2 separate regions of the Homo sapiens genome follow, and region 1 is linked to region 2. Evidence: promoter capture Hi-C in 16 types of primary human blood cells and fetal thymus (Javierre and others, 2016). All regions are on one chromosome and are shown on one strand. The core of a region is centred on a gene start or on the middle of the fragment in contact, and the rest is flanking DNA. Distances in the headings are between cores, read along the strand shown.

Region 1 (5,263 bases), core at 1,794-4,293, 650 kb before region 2:
GTATAGGAATCAAAGCATTTTTCCTTAACTCATTAGATTATAATGTGTGTCCTAGTGCCTAGTTAACTAATTAAATATGTAAGTCCATTGCGTTCTTAGCCCGTTTTCTCCTATGTTAAATGATTTCAAGAAATCCCTTCCAACTATGACAATCTGTGAAATATGGAAAAATACATTTACATGAATGAAAACAGTTTGCAGGACCAAGATTCGTGATCTCTGATTTTTAACTTTTCATTATTTATGGATCACTAGGAGGAAGGATTGAAAATTAGCTATTTCCCCCCACATTTTCTTGTAGGCTGCTTTGCAGAAGCAGATAAACAGCCGTACCCCCAAAACTGATCAATTCTGGGACCAGGTATAGGGATAGGGCGTAAATACTGCTAGGAAATACATTACTAGTAATTTAGAGAATTAAGTTGTTATAGGCAATAAGGCTCACAAATAGACTTCCATATTAAGAAAATCTGTTGATTGACCTTTTTCAAGATGATCTTTTTAAAAGGCATATTAATTTTGGGTATCTGGGTAATAAAATGAATAAATAATAAAAATGACTTCTCTAAGGATTGTTTTCTAAATATTCTCCTATTAAAAAAGTAGAATATTTTATATTTAGCTTTAAATGTTTTTATGTTGATGTTGAAATGAAAAGAAAGTATCTGTTGACAGAATTTTTAACATTTGGCCCCAGGAACAGTGAGAACAATGTATAGAATTGATTGTAGCATTTTGAAGCAAAATTTATAACTTTTAATTTTCTTATAAAAATATATTTTAACATTTAAAAATTTAATTTTATCATACATTAGATTTTTTTAAAAAAACGTTGAAGTAAATGAAAGTTTATGAATAAAGTTTAGGGCAAGGTATTGGAGAACAAAATTCGTACATTTCTTTTGGTTTGTTGAAAATCTGTTCTTAGTGTTAACTTGGCAAAGTCAGGCAGCAAGCAACACCTACCAGAGCAACTACAGAAGGTAAAGTAAGGAATTTTGGAGAGAAGAAAACAGAAAAATGCTGGTATCTGCTGGTCTTGTGGCTTTCAAATATGGAACTGGCAGCTAAGCTTGTTCGGTAACTACAGTCCCAAGATGGCCCCTAAAGAAGTCTATCTCCCAAGATGAGTCCTAGGGTGATCCCCTTCTACATTGACTCTGGGCTGACCTGGGTCTTGCTTTAACCAGTAGAATGAGGCAGAAGGAATGCTGTGCCACTTCTAGACCTAAGTCTTAGGAAGCCTGATAGCTTCCACTTCTATGCTTTTGGGAGCCTTGGGCCAATATGCAAGAAGTCTGGATACCCTGCTGGAGAGATCCTGTAGAAAGGCCAGATGGAGAGAGACCCTGAGGCTACGTGAAGTGAGAGAGAAAGTCCCAGCAGAGCCAGCCTTTCGGCAATGCCCTGCCAAAGTGCCAGACACATAAGTGAGCCCAGTCATGCCCCAAGACGATTGAGGTCCCAGATGAGTTTTGGGGTGTTATACAACAATCTGTAACTAAAATAGCTTATTTAGAAATTTAAAAAAATAACTAATCAGGCTGTCTTGAATTTATTTCAGCTGACTTTCTGAGTTATTTGGAAGAAAATCCTCTAAAGTAGTTTCAAATTAAAAGACACTTTAAACAAAACTCACCGTAGTCTTGCTTTTTCATTTGAATTTACTCATTTTGGCCCTGTGACTTGTAAACTAAACTCATATTTCTACTACTGCAAAGTTAAGTGTTTTGTTTATGATTTTTAGAAGTTGTCATCTATTGATTTTTTTCTTCTGTTTGTAAAGGTGAATGAACTATCCCAATGCTTACCTGTACCAGTGACTTTGCTTAATCTAAGATGTTGATCATTCTTTATGAAGGCTGAAAATGTTATCTAGAGGTGAAATTTACAATGGAACTAAAAATGAGTGGCTAATGGAATAAAGGCCTGACATTTTTCTACCAATTTTTTTTTTTAAAATTTTGGGTGATATTCTTAAGTAAACTTTTTGCTGTATTTCAGGGTTTGGAAGATAACTTGAACCCATATATGATAGGTAAACTAAAAAATCCCCTAAATTTCTTAATCTTTGTTTCTAAAATATTTGTTTGTAAATTTGTTTAAAGACTTGAGACCTTAATTACTTGCTGAAGGTGATTGTTACTTTAAAACTAAGTCTATGAAATTAGGATTTAGTCCTTATCTAAGTAGGCTCTCTTTCTCTTTTTTAAATACTTAAATATTACAAGCTTTGTAATGGAAAGAAATGTTTCTCATCTTATAGTACAGAAGCAAAAATCTTAGTGGAGAATCGTTACCAATTTGGGGAATTTCAATGGTCATAATTTATATCATTGTTTCTGAATGCCATGTTCACACACTCAGATGATTTCTATTTATAACAATCTGGTATAAAATGGAACTCGTTAAAAAGATGATAGAAACCTTTTAGAAATATCTCTAGAAAGTGTACATGCTAATAAATCTTACTTAAAGATTTTTCATTTTAAAGATGTTATTTAAATTATCTCTGTAAATAACTCCAATAATATCTTTGAAGGGTATTTGGAATGGTTCCTTCCTGAAGATTGTAAGAGGTTAGAGTGCACCATTTTATGGTATGTTGACCCCATGTTAATGATAGGAACCTCACAATTTATATAAAAATCAAATGCATCAATCAACACTTACTTAATGGCAATTTAACAATATAATCACAGTATTTCCCCCTGTAGTCCCAGTCACACTGCAGTAGAAGCTAAATTCCTTCCCCAATAGATGCTGCATCGAAAAGGAAATACTGTACCTCAGAGAGGCCGGGACAGGAATTGGGTAGACATGGACTGTCTCCTTATTCTGGAAGGTGCCTGTCTGTATGAAATCATTACCTGGATCCTTGTTGAGAGCACCGTCTCTATCTGATTTCTGGTGAGGATCTTTTCATAGTTTGCCCTGATCTCATTGAGTAGCTGGGACAGTTCCATTCTTTTCCCATCCTCCACCTTGGCTAACTGAACCTTATCGATAGGATGAGTCGCTGCGGCAGTCTGCTCGGTCTGCGCGGAAGGCAGGGAGCCTCGCAGAGTTTTAAAGATGCAGAGCTCCTTTTTCGGAGGCCACGGAAATTCTCATCTTTCTAACTAATTATGCAAATACAGGGTAAACTCTTTGCTCCTATTGTTATTGGTATAGTAGAAATGTCAGATTCTTCATGAAGGAAAGGAAAATTTCAAAAACCTGTACTGGTTCCCTGTAAAAATTGAGCACTTTGAGGGGAGGGGGAGTTCATTTTTGTGAAAAGGAAATGGGGCATAACATAAGAAAATTGCCGGGCATGGTGGCTCATGCCTGTAATCCCAGCACTTTAGGAGGTTGAGGTGGGTGGATCACCTGAGGTCGGGAGTTCGAGATCAGCCTGGCCAACATGATGAAACCCTGTCTTTACTAAAAATACAAAAATTAGCTGGGCGTGGTGGTGGGTGCCTGTAATCCCAGCTACTCGGGAGGCTGAGGCAGGAGAATTGCTTGAACCCAGGAGGTGGAGGTTGCAGTGAGCCGAGATTGAGCCACTGCACTCCAGCCTGGGTGACAGAGTGAGACTCCATCTCCAAAAAAAAAAAAAAAAAAAAAAAAGAAAATTATATTTAGTTTTCTCAAAATGTTGCAGATAAGTGCTGGTAGACTATGAGAGTTGTGAGTTAACATTTCCAAAGTTTTAACAAGGATGAAGAAATAGACCTTTTGGTGTATTCACCAAAAGAACCCTTGAGTCCTTTGGAGGGTGTAGTCAGTGTACCATTCCATCCAATCGTTGCAATCACTTGAGCCCTTCGGAGGGTGTATTTGGCGTATCATTCCATCCAATCCTTGCAATCCCTGACATTTTCTAACCTGTAAAGATGAAAAGACTGAGGCCAGAGAGGTTGAGGCATCTTGCCCAAGGTTGCTCAGTGATGTATGACATCACTGGGACTGGCTCTTTGACAACTTGCTTGTGTTCCATGTATTACCCCTGCATATCTGCCTCTGCGTTCTCTCTCTCCCCTTCTAAATTCCTGGTTTAATCTTGCCAGCTGGTTGCTAGATGTGACAGAAATATGTCGTGAGAGTGGATCTATCATTATTGTTATTTGTGGAGTGGCTTTGGCTGAATTGTATCTGGAGCACAGTTCAGGAGATAATCAGACCTGGGTTCTAGCCCTTACAGGGCCTTTGCATGCATGTCCTGCTCTTTTAATTTCTGAATTAACTCACATCTGGCCAGGCCAGTCTATGCTGGGCATTCTCACAGCCCTCTCCAAACAAAGCTGTCCTACCCACAGCTCCTGGTGAGAGGAGAGGTTCCAGGTTATTTCTGACCCACCCCTCCCTACCTCCTGCACCTTCCCCATCAGTCACAACTTGATTATCTATAGATTGGTCAGAGACCTTTGGAGTAGGCTGAGACAGAAAGCTCTGACTAAAGAGAGTCATTAATGATTATCTAGGCCAAACTGATTCTCTTTCTTGGTAACTGGGACTGAGAAATATGAAGAGAATTAGGCTTGGGAGTGGAGGAGAGAGAAGAAAGCAATGAATTAAATTCCTAAATTAAATTCAGGGAGCAATGAATTAAATGCTTCCTGCTACTTTAGGTAGCTCCTGCTAATATCCGCCTGAAACACAGAGAGCTGAACTAGATTCCCTGGAGGGTCAGTCCTGGCAATCTGCATTTTAAATAGGTCTGCCAGCATTTCTTATGCACCCTAAATAAAGCAGCACTGTCCAGTGGAAATATAACACAAACCACAAATGCAAACCACAGATGTCCTTCCAAACTTTCTAGTAGCCATATCAAAAGATTGAAACAAAAAGAAGTGAAATTAATTTTACGACTATATTTTATTTAACTTGATATATCCAAAATGCAGCAACCCATATAAAATGTTAATGAGATCTTTTACATTATTCTTGATACTGTCTTTGAAATCCAAGTGTATTTTATACTTACATCGCATCTCAGCTTGGAACAGCCACATTTAAAGTGCTCAATAGCTGGGCACAGTGGCTCACCCCTGTAATCCCAGCACTTTGGGAGGCTGAGGCGGGAGGATGGCTTGAGCTCAGGAGTTCAAGACAAGCCTGGGCAACATAGAGAGACCCAGACTCTACAAAAAAAAAAAATTAAAAAATTAGCCAGGAGTAGTGGTGCAAGCCTGTAGTCCCACCTACTTGGGAGGCTGAGGTGGGAGGATCACTTGAGCCTGGGAAGATTGAGGCTGCAGTAAGCCAGATCACACCA
Region 2 (5,159 bases), core at 1,641-4,140:
TTCACTGGTCTCTGGACAAGTGTGTCCCATTGGCAGCTCCTGCTTTGGCGGTGGCTTTGTCTTAGGGGTTAAAGAGCCAGTTCCTAGGAAGCCAGTTCCAGCCAGAGTGAAAATGGCTCAAATAGTAGAGTCCGAAACTGAACCAAGGCAGAGTCAAATCTCAGGTTCTCTCCAAAAGAAGACATTAATAATACTGCTGGGTTCATAAATGAAAGAAAAAAATGAAAACACAATGAGCTACCACTATACACCTGCTGGAATGGCTAGAAATAAAAAGACTGATAATATTAAGTGTTACCAAGGACATAGACACTGGAACTCTCAGACATTGCTGGTTGGAATACAAAATGCTGTGGCCACTTTGCAAAACAACTCGGCAGTTTCACATAAGGTTAAGCATTCACTTACCATTTAAACAGCCATCCAATTGCTAAGTATTTATCCAAAACAAAGCATATGTTCACCAAAAAAAAAAAATTGTACGAGAATGCTCATAGCAGCTTCATTCATAATAGCCAGAAACACAAAAGAATCCAAATGCCCATAAGTAGGTGAATATATTTTTAATGTAGTTTATCTGTATAATGGGATGCCATTCAGTAGAAAAAAAAATGAATTATTGATACCTGCAACAATGAACAGATACAAAACATGATAGGCAAAATGAAAAATAGTGCATACTGCATGATTTCTTTTATATGAAATTCTAGACATGGTGAAATCTGTAGTAACATAAAGAACAGGTTGATGGTTGCCAGGGTCTGGGGGTGGGGGAAGAACTGACTGCAAAGACAAACTGGGAATTTTGGGGGTGATGGAAAGTTCCATAAAGATCTTGAGTGCAGTGGTGGTTACATAAGTATACACGAATGTCAGATCACATCATACTGTTCACTAAAAATGGGAACTTTTTATTATATGTAAATTATATTTCAATAAAGTTGACCATAAAAAATGAAACAAAAAAATTTTTTAAAGAAAAAGGTAAAAGCAACATAATCCCAGTTTTATTCATAACTATGCTTAGAAAACAGTCTGGAAAGCTTATCAGTAATAGACTCTGAGTGGTGAGCCTTCGAATGCTATATTCTTTATATGTTTCTGTATTTTTTCATTTTTTAGAGTTCATTGCTATGCTTATAATCAGAAAAAAATTTTTCTTTGTCAAATGAAACATCGCTTTGTAGGCATAAAAATAAATACTATTTTTCCAGGGCAAGAGCAAAATTAGTTTTATTACACACACAGCTTAAGGTCACTTTCAACAAAAGGTTGATCAACTGTCTTTTGAGTTTTAACCTCCCAGGTGGACCCACACACCTTGGCTGGGCCCTACCTAGCAGAGGTATACTCACTCCCTCCTCCTTAGAACTCAGGCAGAAGAAACGTAGCTGGTTCCAGGTAAGACAACCTAGCACAGAAAAGTGAGACTGGACCAAGCATGAGGCTGGAAGAAGGAACTGTACTGCGCAGAACATCCTCAGAAACTGTGAATTCACTAGCTTTGCCATTAGAAATCCTTTCCATTCAGAACCAATCTTGTTTTACCAAAGCCTCCTTTCCGACTTTGCCAGAAAGTTCTGATCAAGCCTGAAGCCCTCCTGCAGAACCATCCTAGGAGAGCTGTAGTGCAGAAGAAAGCCATGCCCCTCAATCACCATTAAATGTGGCCAGCATCAGCATTCACCCAGGAGCTTTTAAAAATGCAGGTCCCTAGGGACTCTAGGCCCTAGAGCTAACGGGTAAAATCTCCAGTGATAAAACCCAATGATCTATATTTTTAAAAGCTTTTCAAGTGAATCTCATGCAGCACACGGAAGCTTCCGTCTAGATCTATGGTTCTCAAACTTCAGTGCATAAGAATTATCTAAGGTTCTTGTTAAAAACACAGATTCCCAGGCCACACTTTGGTGGATTCTGATTCTGTATGTCTTAGGGAGGGCCTCAGAGTCTCCAGTTTTAACAAGCTCCCAGGTGATTCCGACGCAGGTGATCCAAAAACCACAATTCAAAAACCCTAAGGCAGATGCCAGAGTGAATTTTTCTAACCCAGTCCTCAGCAGGGAGGTCAAGGAAGAGGCAAGAGAACTAATTAGGTTATGCCAGCATGCTCAAATTTATTAAGAGGCTCACAAAGAAGATGGACCTTTTTTGCATCTCAAAGCTGCAGAAAGCCAGGGCGGAGGATCAGTCCCAAAGACACCTTGAAGAAGAGGATGTCTTATAGTACAAGACATTGAACTTCATGTGAATAAGTAAAGTATTGGGGATTCACCCTTGAGCTTGGGATCACTTAGTTGTGACCGAGTTTTAATGTTTCATCAGAGTATGGCTCTTGTTCTCGGTGCCTTGAAATACCAGAGAAGGTGTTGGAGAACAAGCCCTCCTCTACAAATCACAGAAAGACAAGACACTGTCTTGGGGGTATGGAAGGTTCTGGACACGAGGGGCTGTCCCCCTGGAGCAGATGGAGGCTTTCGGTGGGACTGCATCAGTGGTGGAGGGAAAGGTCTTCATTTTGTGTCGCATATAGGTGTGGGCTGGCAGCACACAGGCCCACAGCACCCGGAGCCGCAGCAACTGGACCCACAGCAACTGGATCCACAGCAGCCACCCCCGCAGCCTCCGCAGCCTCCACAGCCTCCGCAGCCAGATCCACAGCAAGACGATCCGCAGCAGCTGCCCCCGCAGCCAGAGCCCCCGCAGCCAGAGCCCCCACAGCCACAGCAGGAGCCGCAGCAGCCACAGCAGCCCGGCTGACAGCAGCACTCTTCACAGCAGTTTTGCTCCTGGGTGCAGCAGGTGAAGCAGTCCCCCGGGCAGCACCCCATGGTCCGGGCCCGTCAGCTCGCAGGTCGGTAACGCAGCCGGAGTTCCCCACGACTGACGGTGGCCAGCCATCTGGATGGCAGCTTTTATATCCCCTCACCCAGGCATGAGGGACGGGATGTTTTCTTTGTTATTATTTATGCAAGTTTCCATAAGACCGGCTCATTAACTGGCTGTTTATTTTCCAGTCCTGAGTACCTCAACTCATAAAAACGCCCCACTCCTGCCAACTGCTGTTTATCCAGAGGGTAAAAATACATCTTCGAAAAGACCTGTCATCATGGCCAAGCATCTGCCAGCTGTCATTAGCCCAGGTTGGAGATGGGAAGGGGAAGCCGGCCACAGCTTCTGGCTCTGGAATGAGGGGCTTGCCTTCCACATCTTCGCAGGTTGGCGATGGACCCCATCTTCCATGGATGCTAGTCCTGGAAAGGCAGACCGGCAACAGCCGAATGCTCTGTTCCCCCTGACACCAGTGGAGGCTACTGAGAACGCCTGGTCACGTGGCTCCTCCCAGGTGGAAATGGCATCCTCATCCCGGTTCATGTGAGCCAGGCAAATGTTTGTGTCTGTGTGTGGTATGGGGAGTGTGCCACACGTTTAGGCTTGGCCGGTGAGCATCAGTCATGAGTAATAACTGCCCTGTGAAACCGAGAGAGACTCATCGTAAAGCTGCAAGAAGCTGGTAAGGCATGGTCTGTCTCGGCGGCAAGGTGAGCTGAATATTCGCACTTCTCTCTAAATAGGTGGGAAGAACTGAGATCAGAACCCTCTACCCACCCCCACTCCAGCCCCAGGCCTTTCCTTGACCGGGGAAGGAAGAGATGCAGGAGGAGGAAGAAGAGGAGAAGGGGAGGAAGAAAGGAAAGAAGAAAAGAAAGAAGAAAGCAGGAAGGAGATCAGTAAATATCCAAAATGCTACATTAAAATGGGAATGTAACGCACTTTTTTTAAGAGTTCGAACCTTATAGACCATCTGGCAGAAGGAGAAATTAGAATACAAAATACCCAGAGTGTCATCCCAAGGAATAAAATGCCTTTGCAAGGAGTCTAAAATCTACAGATGGTTCAGGTCCATGTGTAAATTTTGAGATGGGTCAAAATTTCTGTCTCTTTCTTGGACTTTGGTACCTTGTTCTCCTCTTGGAGTGCCCATGGCAGCCCTGGAGCTGGAATACAACATCTAGTAGGGGTAGAGGACAGAAGATAGGGGTGGGGTGGGAATGGAAGGAGGGATGGGAGTAAGGATCTGGATCAAGGGATCTAGTCCTTCCCTTTTCATTTCCCTTTCTTTGTAAGATGGGCTAGAAGTAAGACAGCCTCTAAGAAGGGCTAGAAGAACTAAGGACAGGGTGGGAGTCGGGAGGGTAAATGATGAATGAGTTACTTGGATCTGATATGATACTCAATACTTCACAGGATATGGAATTTTAGAGCTGGGAGGAACCCCTGAAACATCATCTGGTCCAGGGTTTTATATCAGAATTGCCTAAAAGGGGGCCTTTTGAAAAATACAGATTCCCAAACTGTATTCCAGTCCTTATGATAAATCAGAATGTGTGCTTATGAGAGCTTGAGAAGCTATATATTTTAAACTTTCTCAGGTAACTTGGGTTACATTAGGAAACACTGATATAATCTAATCCTATCATGACCATCACTGCCAAGCACTTGTGTTTTACAGAAGATGATACCAAGGCCCAGAGATGACACATCCGTGGTAGATTGGACCCATGGCCCAGATGTTCTCCCTCCTGGTCCACTGTTTCTTCCACCATACCACATCCACAGATGGGCACCTCTGAGTGAGTATAATACAGCAATGTCTATGGCAGACGTGTCCTTTTTTGTTTGTTTGTTTGTTTTTTTGAGATGGAGTCTCACTCTGCTGCCCAGGCTGGAGCGCAGTAGCTTGATCTTGGCTCATGGCAACTTCCGCCTCCTGGGCTCAAACGATGCTCCTGACTTAGCCTCCCAAGTACCTGGGATTACAGGCACGCACCAACAAGCCCAGCTAATTGCTGTATTTTTAGTAGAGACAGGGTTTCGCCATGTCGCACAGGCTGGTCTGGATCTCCTGACCTCAAGTGATCTGCCCGCCTCGGCCTCCCGAAGTGCTGGGATTACAGGCGTGAGCCACTGCACCCGGCCGACACATCCTTTTACATATTTATTTATTTTAATAAGAGGTCAAGCATTCCCAGGATAAAAGGTACAAAAGAGTAGAAAGTCTTCCTCATCTTCCAATGTCTCACCATTCAGTTCTCCTGCCTCTCACCCACCCCCTCGCTGCTCCCATAATTACTTAACCCCTGTGTACCTGAATTTCT

What was found. The method cuts DNA at HindIII sites, captures the fragments that hold promoters and counts their contacts. A CHiCAGO score of 5 or more calls a contact.
Region 1: a contact is called between the fragment with the promoter of KRT222 here and the fragment with the promoter of KRTAP17-1 in region 2, in 5 of 17 cell types (M1 macrophages, M2 macrophages, M0 macrophages and 2 more). The highest score is 8.1, in M1 macrophages.

What each region holds. Positions count from the first base shown.
Region 1 is chr17:40,662,134-40,667,396 of GRCh38, forward strand. It overlaps KRT222 (keratin 222), which reads right to left and starts at 3,044. Exons shown (of 6, transcript NM_152349.3): 1 at 2,871-3,044. The coding sequence starts at 2,966. The HindIII fragment of the contact is 3,418 bases long and covers 2,230-5,263 here.
Region 2 is chr17:41,312,820-41,317,978 of GRCh38, forward strand. It overlaps KRTAP17-1 (keratin associated protein 17-1), which reads right to left and starts at 2,891. Exons shown (of 1, transcript NM_031964.2): 1 at 2,093-2,891. The coding sequence starts at 2,831. The coding sequence ends at 2,514. The HindIII fragment of the contact is 4,540 bases long and covers 1,819-5,159 here.